Linked DNA regions of Homo sapiens: region 2 is linked to region 1. Evidence: promoter capture Hi-C in human tissues and cell types (Jung and others, 2019). All regions are on one chromosome and are shown on one strand. Each heading gives the region's core, a stretch centred on a gene start or on the middle of the fragment in contact. The rest is flanking DNA. Distances are from core to core; before and after follow the strand shown.

Region 1 (6,666 bases), core at 1-2,500:
TTACAGGTGCCTGCCACCACGCCTGGCTAATTTTTTGTATTTTTAAGAGACGGGGTTTTACCGTGTTAGCCAGGATGGTCTCGATCTCCTGACTTCGTGATCCACCCGCCTAGGCCTCCCAAAGTGCTGGGATTACAAGCGTGAGCCACCGTTCCCAGCTTAGGAGTATTTTCTAAATGCACCTTGCTTTTTTTTTTGAGATGGAGTCTCACTCTGTTGCCCAGGCTGGAGTGCAGTGGTACGATCTTGGCTCACTGCTCAACCTCTGCCTCCTGGGTTCAAGCAATTCTCCTGCCTCAGCCTCATATGTAGCTGGGATTACAGGTGTGCACCATCACACCTGGCCAATTTTTGTATTTTTAGTAGAGATGGGGTTTCACCATGTTGGTCAGGCTGGTCTCAAACTCCTGACCTCCAGTGACCCACCCACCTCGGTCTTCCAAAGTGCTGGGATTACAGGCGTGAGCCACTGTGCCCGGCCCTAAATGCACATTTCATTTCAGAGCCTGGGTGGCTCTGATTTGTAACCTCAGGAAGCGGAGCCTGATGGCAGGTGGATGGGCCTGGCCCCAAGTGCTTGTGGAAGGAGCAGAGCCACAGGCTGGGTCAGAAACGTGCTGTCCCATGCGATCCTGGATGGAGATGCCTGATTTCAGTGGGTGGTGCCTCATGGATGATTGCTGGGTTGGGCAAGAGGAAGGACTTGGAAACCCTGTTTTTCTGTTTCATTTCCAAATCCTGGAGTGTCTTTTAGCCAACTATGGCAATAACACCTCCACTAACCTCCTCTCTTTGTGGCGCTGCAAGTGCCTTCCTTCTCCAACTCCTTGAGGCAGATTCTCCCTTGAGAATCCAGGGCACTCTGATGCTTCCTCTGAACCCCTTCTAGCGTTCTTTCCTCTTCAACCTCCTCTCGCTTCCCTGTCTCCTTCAGGAAGCCTTCCCTGAGGGCCTCAGTGACTTTGCTCCGGCCATCCCTCCCTGTCCCTCAGCACTGACATCCCAGTCTCCTGCCTGCTTCCTTGTCTTTGGGCATGCCTATTTCTCCAACAGCCTGGGAGCTCTGAGGGCAGGGTCTGGGTTTCCTTCTCCCTTGGCTCTGCACGTGCCGGACACTTATTCTCCAGGCACGTCAGAGTAAGTCAGCTGGAGCCAAGTGACAGACACAGTCAGGTCAAGAGTATCTTGCTCTCCAAGGCCCAGCCCAGGTACGGGAGTGGATAAAAGTCTCGTGCTGGGGCCCCAGGGCAGAAACTCACACACCTTGACAATCTGTCTGTCCGTCTGCAGCTGCGTGACTGTCTGTCTCTGCCATGTCTCTCTCCCCATGCCGGGCCCAGAGGGGCTTCAGCGCTCGCTCAGCCTGTTCTGCTCGCTCAAGGGGCCGCAGCAGGGGAGGCTTCAGCAGCAGGGGCGGCTTCAGCAGCAGGAGCCTTAATTCCTTTGGGGGGTGCCTGGAAGGCTCTCGTGGGAGTACCTGGGGGTCAGGGGGTAGGCTGGGGGTGCGGTTTGGGGAGTGGAGTGGTGGGCCTGGGCTCTCCCTGTGCCCTCCGGGGGGCATCCAAGAAGTGACCATCAACCAGAATCTGCTGACCCCACTGAAGATTGAGATCGATCCCCAGTTCCAGGTGGTGCGGACGCAGGAGACCCAGGAGATCAGAACCCTCAACAACCAGTTTGCTTCCTTCATTGACAAGGTGAGGGTCAACTCAGCCAAGCCCCTGTCTCTGTGCCTCCCTTGGAGGAGCTGCTCTTGATGGACTTGGAAATGGGAAGTTTGGCCTCCTTCTACCACTTTTCTAATAACTTCTGCAGCAAAGAAGTCCCTCCTGTGGACTAACTGGACTCTCTCTGGCTATGCTGAGGCCCTGTTGTTCCATGATTGGGGCTCAGGGACAGAGAACTGCCAGCCAGCGGGGGGAAGGCCCTGCCCCATTAGTCAGTCCAGTCATTTTGTTGTGTTCAGAGTGTCATGGAAGGTCATGAGGCTTCCCCTGCCCAGGTTGGGCAGGGGGACAGGGGAAAGGTGAGGCTGATGGGAGGGTCCCTCAGGCTTTACTTTCCAGAGGCTGTGCACAGGGAGTCCCACAGGAGCCTCAGGGATCCTCTGCTTTTGCTGCAGGTGCGGTTCCTGGAGCAGCAGAACAAGGTCCTGGAGACGAAGTGGCATCTGCTGCAGCAACAGGGGTTGAGTGGCAGCCAGCAGGGCCTGGAGCCTGTCTTTGAGGCCTGCCTGGATCAGCTCAGGAAGCAGCTGGAGCAGCTCCAGGGAGAACGAGGGGCTCTGGATGCTGAGTTGAAGGCCTGCCGGGACCAGGAGGAGGAGTATAAGTCCAAGTAGGCACACTGAAATTTCCCCATGCCATGTGGGCGGGGTCTGGGATGACTCAGTTTGGGTCTGTCAGCCAGGAGGTGTCCCACATACTGAGCACCCAGAGGCACATGACTGGCCTCCCCTCTACCCCTCCGCGTCCCCATTCCCCAGGCTCTCAGGTGCCCACCTGCTACAGGTAAACGAGGTGTCCCGCAGTCCCCAAGCAGATCTGGAGAACCTTGGAGGAAAGGCAGGGAGACCGGTGTCCTACATGCCCCAGCTACAAGGGCCCATGTTTCCGGTCAAGGCTGGGAAGGGCTTATTTAAACAATGCCCCAGTGGCTTTTTTTATTCTTGAGAAATTCCTGTTCAGCGGGCTGTGGGCTAAAGTGATTCAGATGTTCTCTGGTTCCAAAGAGGGAAGGGAATCAATTTAGTGGGGCTGTCCCCAGGCCTGTGACACAATTCACAGATGGGCTGTGGTTCTGGGCTCCACGCCTAGGTCACCTGGTGGAGTGGAGAGAGCCCTGGACTAATAGGGGGCTTGGGTTGGGGCAACTGTGAGTGAGGGGTAGCTGTGCATCCTGGGCAAGGCATCTCATCTCTCCCGGACTTGGTTTCCCTTCTGTAAACTTGGGAAATGTCACCTGCCCTTCTGGCCTCCCAGGGCTATTGGGATAATGGGATGTGAGGTGGAGGAAGGAAGGTTCTGGAAGGAGCCCTGGATTGGGGTCAGAAGACCTGGGCTGGCTCTGCTTTGTCTACCTAGTCATCTGTGGGGTCTTGGTCAAATCATCTAATCTCTCTGATAAAACCCAAACTGCCTACCTCAAGTGATGGGTGTGAGTAGCAAGTGGGAAAAGGTATTCGAATGTGCCTTATAAACTGAAACAATGTGGCTGTCGTCATCAAAAGGACATGGGCTGAAAGGGTGGCACAGGTACATAGCTAGGACGTGGCAGGAAAGGAGAGAAGGGCTGGTTATTGTCTTGTTTGGGGGCATTCTAAGGCAAGGAGTCCTTTTCAGGGAGGTCATGCTCGGACATGGGGGCATGAGCTCTGACCGTGGAGCCTCAAACTGCATCCTTCTCTACTTATTTGGCAGGTATGAGGAGGAGGCCCACAGGCGTGCCACACTTGAGAACGACTTTGTGGTCCTCAAGAAGGTGAGGGTGGGGGCCAGTGCTCCACTTACGTTCTGAGCATCCACTGTGCACGGAGCCTAGTCCTAGGCTGGGAGGGAAAAGGTGGGAGGTCCTGATTTAGGACAGGCTATCACTCTACCTGCAGGGGTCCCCTGGGAAAATGGGACATCTGCCTAGACACAGGGGCCCCAAGGCAAGATCTGACTAAAGGACTGCTTGACGAGCTCTTGATGTCACTGCAGGAGAGGGCGGGGAGGGAGAGGAAGAAGCAGAACTGGTTGTGATTAATCAGGGAAGACTTCCTGAAGGTGATGTTGGGTCAATGTTGGGCAAAGGAGAGAGCAGGACAGAGTGGGGCTGGAGGAGGAAGGAGGGGGTCTTGGGAGGCATGGTGGATGGGTGTTGAGCAGTGCATGAACAGAATTCCTGAGCCAGAGTAGGGACCCCAAAGAGGAAGAGGGGGTTACGTGTTCTCTCTCCCCTTGTCTCCAGGATGTGGATGGGGTTTTCCTGAGCAAGATGGAGTTGGAGGGCAAGCTGGAGGCTCTGAGAGAGTACCTCTACTTCTTGAAGCATCTGAATGAAGAAGTGAGGCTCAACCAAAGGGCAGGCTGCAGCCAAGAGAGAGGACTGGGTGGGCAGGCTTCCTGTGGCCATGAGGAGAATGGCCAAGAGGGGAAGTCTGTTAGGGTGGCTTAGATTCTGGGTCATTCAGTCACTTGACAACCAATTACTGAAAACTTACTATGTGAATTGCTAGGTCCTGGGGATACATCAATGAATAACCAGAAAAAAATCACTACAGATAAAAAAATTGCTTTTTTTTTTTTTTGAGATGGAATCTTGCTCAGTTGCCCAGGCTGGAGTGCAGTGGTGCAATCTCAGCTCACTGCAACCTCTGCCTCCCGGCTTCAAGCAATTCTCTGCCTCAGCTTCCCAAGTAGGTGGGATTACAGGCACCCGCCACTGCGGTCAGCTAATTTTTGTATTTTTAGTAGAGATGGGGTTTCACCATCTTAGCTAGGCTGGTCTTGAACTCCTGACCTCATGATCCACCCGCCTCGGCCTCCCAAAGTGCTGGGATTACAGGCATGAGCCACCACGCCCGACTAAGTTTGCTTTCTATTGGGAGACAGACAATAAGCAACAGACTTAGTAAATAAGGAAATCATATAGTATGGAAGAAGGTGATAAACGCAATGGAAAAAAGGAAAATGAGAACAGAGAAAGGAGGATTGGGAACATGGAGCAGGTGCCAACTTCAAATCATGTGGCCAGGGTAGGCCTTATTTAGGAGATAAAATCTGAGCAAAGATTTGGAGGAGGTGAGGAAGGTCACCACGCAGGTGGGTTTCTGGGATTCCAGGCAGTGGCTGCAGCCCACAGCGGGAGTGTGCTGTCTGAGGAAATGCAGGAAGGTCGGTGTGGCCAGAGTAGTAGGAGCGAGAGGGAGAGGAGTATGATAAGAGGTCTGAAGATGGCTGGGCACGGTGGCTCATGCCTATAATCCCAGCACTTTGGGAGGCTGAGGCAGGTGGATCACCTGAGGTCAGGAGTTCGAGACCAGCCTAGTGAAACGCTGTCGCTACAAAAACACAAAAATTAGCCAGGCTTGGTGGCAGGTGCTTGTAATCCCAGCTACTAGGGAGGCTGAGGGAGAAGAATGGCTTGAACCTGGAAGGCAGAGGTTACAGTGAGCCGAGATCACACCACTGCACTCCAGCCTGGGCAACAGAGTAAGACTCCATCTTAAAAAAAAAAAAGAAGAAGAAGAAAAAAAAAAGAGGCCTGAGGAGTGATGGGGGCTGGGTGATTTTGGGCCTTGCAGGCCATTTTCCATTAATGTCCAAGCTGCAAGAGACTTCAGAGACCACCTCCTATGGCTCTCATTTTTGAATGAGGAGATCGAGTCCCATGGTGAGCAGGGCATACTCAAAGCCACCTGGGATGAATGGGGGTCATGGCATGTAAGCAGAAATTCATCATCCTGCTCAACCATCCTAGGCTTCAAGGGGAGAAGGAGCTGGGGGTGAGTGGACACTGAGTCTGTCTTCCCTGCAGGAGCTGGGCCAGCTCCAGACCCAGGCCAGCGACACGTCTGTGGTGCTGTCCATGGACAACAACCGCTACCTGGACTTCAGCAGCATCATCACTGAGGTCCGCGCCCGGTACGAGGAGATCGCCCGGAGCAGCAAGGCTGAGGCTGAGGCCTTGTACCAGACCAAGGTGGTGGGACCTGGGGGGCAGCACCATGCTGGAAATGGCTAGGTCTCCATGCCCAAACTCTAGGGTGGTCATCCACCTCGATCCCATTGGGGCAGTTCCAGTTACCTCCCTGAAGGTCTGGGGCTGGGTGGGCAGGGCCATTTCCCCTCCAGGAGGGAGGCGATGCAGAGGAACCGTGGGAGATAAGCTTGGACTTCTGGAAGTATATCCCACTGTGTCCTGGCTCAGGCGTTTAACCCACACTCCAAATAAGGAGTGAGAGGTGGCTTTTCAAACATGAGGAGATGGTCAAAGGTGGCAGTCCTCTCAACTAATGGTGTCCCCTCTGTTCCCCTCTCAGTACCAGGAACTTCAGGTGTCTGCCCAGCTTCATGGGGACAGGATGCAGGAAACGAAAGTCCAGATCTCTCAGCTACACCAAGAGATTCAGAGGCTGCAGAGTCAGACTGAGAACCTCAAGAAGCAGGTAGATTCCCAGAGACCCCCAAATGTCCTCTCATTGCCTTTGTGCCTTCAACTCACTTCCCAGTTCCTAGCTTCTCTCTCCAGTTGGGTTGCCAGTGGTTTTGTGTCGAGGACCTTGATAACTGGCTGGAGCTTTGGATAATTTGGGGAGAAGAGAACTTCAAGCCCCATCTAGGGTGAATTCAGCCTTCCTGCTGTGACTTCTAGCCACATGTTGGCTTTCGTGGGATAGTGCCACTGGATCGCACTCCCCTGGCATCGGGGAGGGGGCTGACAGCATTGTAGCCTATGTCCAGGTGTACATCTTGCTTTCAGCCCCTTGGGGAGATGGTTAATTCATCTGTTTTCTCTTTTCTTATCTTTTCCTTTTCTTTTCTTTTTCTTTTTCTTTTTTTTTTTTTTTTTGAGACAGAGTCTTACTCCACTGCCCAGGTTGGAGTTCAGTGGCGTGATCTTGGCTTACTGCAACCTCTGCCTCCGGGTTCAAGGGATTCTCCTGCCTCAGCCTCTTGAGTA
Region 2 (6,761 bases), core at 4,147-6,646, 610 kb after region 1:
GACGGCTCTTTCCTAGCGTGGGAGGGAAGCGCTCTCAGCCCTCTCTCCTTCCAGGCCCCAAGCAGGATCATTGATTTTTCCTTCTTGCCCCACACTTCCAGCCTGCCTTCAGCCTTGTAAAAGGAGCGAGGAGGCATGCAGGAAGGGAGTGTTCACCTTGGCCCTTCTATCCACTGGCCACCTGACCCCAGGCAATGTCTCAGGGCCTCCATTTCCCACCTATGCCTTGGGCCCAACTACAGGACCAAATTCATGGGCCTGTGAGGGTTAAATGACATAATCTGTCTAAAGCCCTGAGCACCTGGGATTCGGTGAATGGTAGCTGTATGTGTTATTTATGTAGATGGCTGCCTTTCCTCACCGTATCATAAAATCCTAAAGGTGTCTGTGGCCTATTGATACTTTTATCCCCAGTATGAGGCCTGGAGAAGTCATTGCTTAATATATGTCAAAATAATTCGTGAATCGTTGACTGATTGAATGGGGCTCCAGCCAGGACTAAGGAAGGAGCAGGGAGTGGGGGTGGCTTTAAGCAGCCAGTGGGGCTGAAACAGGTCTTGCAGTAGAAATTAAAAATCCATTCGGGACAGCTGGCTATGTTTGTTTTGTGACTCACAGTCCCATTGTCACCAAGGCCTTGGCCTTGGGGATCAGTTTGCTCTGTGGGGGCAGGGAAGACCTCGCTTTGGTGGAGGGAATGAAGGGAGCCTCGCTGGCCTCTGCGGCCCCAAGCCCAGGAAGCAGGCAGAGCAAAGGCTGAGGGAAAGAGAGAGGTTTGCTGAAAGCTTCCAGGGGGCTTGCTTAAATGGCCCCTGCTGGTGCTGGGAGTTGCTGGCACTTGTGGGTGGGGAGAGGGAGCCAGGTTGCAGTCAGGCAGCAACTCGAAGAATTTCTGGTACGATGCCTAAGGAACTCAGACGGAAGAGGCCTGAATGTCCAAGGCTCTAGTGATCTGTGTGACTTTTCTCATTCTAAGTAAGTGGGGTTTTTTTGGTAACTTTGTATTCTTAAAGTAGGCCTCCCAGTTTGAATGAGTTTCTGGACCACAACTCTGATAAGTTAAGAGATAAAAGCAAGGTATCTACCTCCATATCCCCCCAGGGTTGGGGGAACCATATCCTCTCAGAGTACCCGGATCTAAGCCTGGTTACAGCAGCTCAGACTGAGATTAAGCTTTCAGAAGAGGATGTCTCTGCGTGCTGTGTGACCTTGGGCACACTACTGACCATTTCTGAGCTTCAGTCCCCTTTTCTTCCCATGGGAGGAAGCCAGATCAGGTACCACTCTAAGAGTCCCCCAACTCTGACTTCTATGACAACAGAAGGCCCAGGGTATGGGTTGTAGAGAATTTGGGGGCCCTGTGCCTGTGGGAGAGGCGAAAGCAGAGAGAGGCATCTTGGCTGGAGCTCCCTGTGCCCAGATCAGCTTCTGTGTTCCCAGAGACTTTTGGTGTTAATTCTTCTTCCCACAAAGAAGACTGGGTGCTAACCCAGGGAGAAGGCGGGTCAGCAGCAGGGGCAAAGCCCCTTCCTCCTCCTCTCCGCCTCCTACTCATACCCTGCGGCCCTGTGTCTCCTCTTCTCCTCCCAGCACCCAGGCCCTCGGCCCTAGCACCCCTTCACTCCCCATTCCCTTCCCTGCTGCTCCATTCATCCTCCGTCATGTCTCTCTCTGGCCCCTTAGGAATAATACTCAGAAAAGAATAAGTTCTTGTATACACTCAGCATTTTACAAATGTAAGTTACTGGTCTCTGGGGGTTTCCTCTGTGGATGTTTTGTCTCCTCCACCCTCTGCAACCTCCCTGAGGGCAGAAACATGTCCTACGTATTCTCTGTTGCCATGGTGTCTTATAACAAGCCAAGAATGAAGAGGTTGAGTTCGAACCCAACAATATGCCCATGAAGGCCCAGCTGCATAGACAGAGGTGGCATGCGGTTCATGAAGAATGTGCTATCAGACTCCCCCATTCCAGCCTCCTCTCTGACTGCAAGTGAGTCTGCAAATATCTCTGGGGACAAACAAAACGATCCCCCTCCACCACAGTCAGTTAGCCCCACATGATGTAGCACTTAGTTCTGTAGTGAGAAGCAGCCTGGCGTCCTGGAAGATCCTTGGAGCAGGAATCAGCACACCCTGACTGCACTCTGGCCCTATTCCCTCAATTAATGAAACTCAACCACAGCTTTCCCCTCTGGAGACTAAGGAATCAATCGTCTCTGACCTGACTACCTGAATGTGTGCTGAGGATCAAATATGATAACCCTAAGAAGCCGCACACACAAAGGGACTGTTATCATTTCAACCTGCCCACTGAGCTTCACACTCCATGGTCTTTCCTTCTAGAAGGTCATCTCATTGAAGGCAAAGAGGCAAGCATCAGCTCTGTGTTCCCTGCATCCCCACACCCAGTGCCCTGCAGAGGAGGGGCATACAGGAAATGCTTGTAAATGGATGAATGTCAAGCCCCAAACCCCACGGAGCCCTAGAAGCATCCCCTTTCCAGGTTCCTTGTCCTCACCGGCTCTCCTCGCCCTCCAGCAGCTTGCGGTAGGTGGCGATCTCGATGTCCAGGGCCAGCTTCACGCTCATGAGTTCCTGGTACTCACGCAGCTGCCGTGCCATATCCTGCTTGCCCCGCTGCAGGGCGGCTTCCAGCTCCTCCTGCTTGGCACGAGCATCCTTGAGCGCCAGCTCCCCACGCTCCTCAGCCTCGGCAATGGCGGCCTCCAACTTGGCACGCTGTGGGCAGCAGTGCAGCTGTAAGCTGGGGCTCACCAGTCTGCCTTCCTGCCTGCCCATCCTGCAGTGAGCACCCGGGCAACTTGCTTAAGGTGGCTTCATTGGCACCACCTACTCCCCCAAGTACCAGAGAATCCTAAGGGTTAAACACATAGGTTTGGATATCCAACGCCTATGTTCCAGTTCTGGCTCTGCCACTTACTAGCTGTGTGACCATGGATGAATCAACCCTGCTAAGCCAAAGTCCCCTCTTTTCTAAGAGAACATCAGGAGATTTTGAGGATGAAATGAGATAATATACAAGATGTCCGTGGCACAATGTCTAGCACACAGCAAGTGCTTAATAAATGCTATTGTGATCATTTTTAATGAATGCTATTATGATTTTCAAACCCCCAGTCCCCCAGCCCCAGCCCCCAGCTGCAGGAGCTCGAAGACCATGGGATCTTAATTGAGTCTCCAGATGTCAGGCAGCTGACAAAGACCAGAAACCACCTATAAAATAGGAACCAGTTGAGAGCAGGCGCAGAATAGGAGGGCCTGGAGCAGAGAGACCCTCCTAGATGCCCCCAGATGCCATGAGATGCATGACTCACAGTCCCCGGGTTTGGTCAGGGATGCTCTGGTTCCAGACCTGTGCCTGCCTGGAGCAGCTGCCACTTTCTCCCTGGCCTTAGAGTGCCCTCTGCTTTAGGCTCAGCCCCCACTGCCAGGAGCCTGAATAGTCCCAGGCCTCATCTTGTTTAGCTCAGAAAACCACCATCCCTGTCCCCTGGGCAAGGACTTCTCTCCCTTCTTACCGGCCATTCTCTATCCTCAGATCCTCTTCCCTCAGTGGAGGCAGTCTGCCTCTCTGCCAGAGACAGCATTCCCCAGGAGGCCCTCTGACACTCTGCCCCTCGGCCACAGCTCGGTGCCCTGCCCTGTCACACTGGTGCCCCCAGAGCCAACGCCATCCCCGCTGCCTCTGGAGACCCCTTGTAGCTCCCCATGACGCCCCTCAGTGGTGGTAGACACCTGGCTATAGGCCTGGATCCGCCCTGTTGTGTGAGAGGAGAACCGGATGTAGTAGAGGCTGCAGGGTTTGGGAAACCACCATTTGTTATTCTGTGCTTCCCCTCCTGGCCTGGAAGCTGGCCCACTTCATGGGGTGACTCACGGCCCTGCCTCTGTGCCCCAAGGCAGCCTCCGCCCTCCTGTAAACAGGCCCACAGGGCTCCAAGGGGAGGACATTTGTGGGTAAATCACCCTCACATCCCCCCACCACCCACAGCTCATCTGGAAATCAGCTTTCCGAAGCTTCCACATGTGTGCCCTCCCCCTCTCTCCACTGCAGACACCTGCACAGGCTGAGCTGCCCTGGCCACACACTACTCAGCCAGGGCTGGGGGCCCTTCCCCCATCAACACCTCCAACCCCAGCTTCCAGCAAAGCTCATCCTCCCAGGCAGTCTCTCATCTGAGACCCGTGCCCCTGCCATGTGCCAGGTGCTGGAAGAGAGGAGCAGTGAACCAGACAGACAGGGTCCCTGCTCTCCAGGCATCTGTTATATTCCAGTGGAGGTAGGGACCATCAATCACTTAATGAATAAGACAGAACATTTCAGAGAGTGACAGGGGCTTCAAAGAACTTCAGACAGGCTGCCGATAGAGGGGCTGGTGTTTGAGAGTGCCGTCTCTGAGAAGGGGTCTTTTCCTAAACCCCAGGGAGGAGAAAACAACAACCATGGACAGAGCTGGGAGAACCACATTCCAGGGGGAGGCAACGCCAAGTGCAAAGGCCCTGAAGCATGACCATTCTTGGCAAATGCAAGATGCAGGAAGCAGGTTAGCATGGCCAGAGCAGAGTGAGGGGAATCGTGGAAAGTGAGGTTGGAGTGGGTGGGAAAGGGCCATGTGAGTCATTATAAGGTCTTCTGCTGTCCTCTGTCCCTGCAATGAATGATGAGCTCCCAGGGACAGCGCCCTGCAGCCAGAACCAGGTGCAAGCAGAGTGCTCAGTATCAATGTGGAACCAGTGGTGGCTTTCTTCTGGCCAGCCAGCCTGAGTCTCCCTCCACAGGCTCTGTGCACATCCAGGACCTTTCTCCCATCAGCCCATGCCAGGACCTGGCCAAGAACATTCTGTGCTGGAGATCTCACAAGGGGGTCTGAGACAGTGGCACCAGCTTTGGCCGGGAGATGGGAACCTCCTGCTCCACATCCTGAGTTTGGCCTCAGCTGGCCACCCCTGCATGCCCCAAGTAGCAGGGGAAGCCAGGAGGACTTGTCCCACCTGGTTCTTGATGTTGTCGATCTCAGCCTGCAGCCTCTGGATGGCCCGGTTCATCTCTGAAATCTCATTCCGGGTATTCCGGAGGTCGTCCCCATGCTTCCCAGCCTGGGCCTGGAGGGTCTCAAACTGGAGGGGCCATACAGAGAGTTATGGCAGAGAGATGGGCAGTGAGTACAGGTAACTCATCCCTCTCCCCACCCAAGGCCCCTCCCAACTTATATTTTCAGGGAAGGACAGTCTGACTCCCATCAACCTTTGCCCGATGCCAGGAGACCAGACAGCAGTGTGAGGAAGGGATTCATTCTCCTCCAAGCCAGGCAGGGAGGACAGACAAGGCTCCGCAGTCCCATCCCCATGGACCCCAGGGCTCTTCCACTCCCACCATGCCCTTCTGCTGGAGAATCACTGAGAGTTTGAGATTCGCACCCATTCAACACCCAGAACACCCATTTCACAGGTGAGGAGAGTGAGTCTTGGAGAAGAGAAAGCACCACCCAGGGATCACACAGCCAATCAGTGATGGAACGAGGGCCTGAACCCAGGTCTTCTTGTTGGCATACTTGTGTTCTCACCCAGGCACCATGAATGACTCTCTATCTCTGCAGGGGCAGACCTCTCAATCCTTGCCTCGGGATCCCTTCTTCAGGAACACTGGTTCACCCCAGCACCCACTCCTGCTCCCTCAGCCCCTGCACCATCAACTGTCCTGCCACCATGAAGTAGATGTGATGATTAAGCCTCCCAGGTCTAGGGCCCTCACATTCAGGATTTAGTCCCTGCTCTTCCATCTACTAGCTGTATGCAGTTAGGCAAATTACTTAACCTCTCTGTGCCTCAATTTCCTCATCTTTAAATGGGGGTAATAGGCTGGGTGCGGTGTCTCACGCCTATAATCCCAGCACTTTGGGAGGCCGAGGCAGGTGGATCACCTGAGGTCAGGAGTTTGAGACCAGCCTGGCCAGCATGGTGAAACCTCGTCTCTACTCAAAATACAAAAAAAATTAGCCAGGCATGGTGGTGCACACCTGTAGTCCCAGCTACTCAGGAGGCTGAGGCACGAGGATCACATGAACCAGGGAGGCAAAGGTTGCAGTGAGCCAAGATCGCACCACTGCACTTCAGCCTGGGTGACAGAGCAAGACTCCATCTCAAAAAATAGAAATAAAATAAATTAAATTAAATAAAACAAAATGGGGGTAATAATGATGCCTATCTAATAGGGCTGTTCTGTGGATTACATGAGTCAATAATTACATGAGCCTAGTACTGTGTAAGTACTTGCCATATTTTAGCTATTATAATGATTAATCCATATCTATTTCCTCTGCCCTGTCCTCCCATCTTGGGATTTTCTCCAGGGCTGAGCACCACAGACTTAAACCACTGGTGCCTGCCAGAACAGTGGGACCCAGGCCCTGAAGGCTTGAGACAAGTTGAGGAGTAAGGGAAGCTGCCACCAAGGACCCTGGCAGGAGGAAATACGCCCCTGGTGGCCTCACACCTTGGTCTGGTACCAGGCTTCAGCCTCAGCCCGGCTGCATTTGGCCATCTCCTCATACTGCGCCTTGACCTCAGCGATGATGCCGTCCAGGTCCAGGGAGCGACTGTTGTCCATGGACAGCACCACAGATGTGTCGGAGATCTGGGACTGCAGCTCTGTCAACTCCTGTAGGGACCAGACGGGACATCAGGACTTAGGGCAGGATCCTATGCCCACGCCCACCCTGGGATTCCCCACTCACAAAGG

What was found. Contacts are between HindIII fragments. The study calls those that stand out against the background at their distance.
Region 2: a contact is called between a fragment that was not itself captured here and the fragment with the promoter of KRT78 in region 1, in 1 of the 25 tissues and cell types used here (spleen).

The regions. Positions count from the first base shown.
Region 1 is chr12:52,843,578-52,850,243 of GRCh38, reverse strand. KRT78 (keratin 78) reads left to right here and starts at 1,250. Exons shown (of 9, transcript NM_173352.4): 1 at 1,250-1,697; 2 at 2,123-2,337; 3 at 3,420-3,480; 4 at 3,952-4,047; 5 at 5,521-5,685; 6 at 6,026-6,151. The coding sequence starts at 1,314. The HindIII fragment of the contact is 16,568 bases long and covers 1-6,666 here.
Region 2 is chr12:52,241,391-52,248,151 of GRCh38, reverse strand. It overlaps KRT7 (keratin 7), which reads right to left. Exons shown (of 9, transcript NM_005556.4): 5 at 6,516-6,680; 6 at 5,015-5,140; 7 at 2,520-2,740. KRT7-AS (KRT7 antisense RNA 1) reads left to right here and starts at 704. Exons shown (of 2, transcript NR_146274.1): 1 at 704-975; 2 at 1,684-3,109. RefSeq lists enhancers at 3,313-3,462, 3,513-3,942, 4,336-5,311. The HindIII fragment of the contact is 8,834 bases long and covers 980-6,761 here.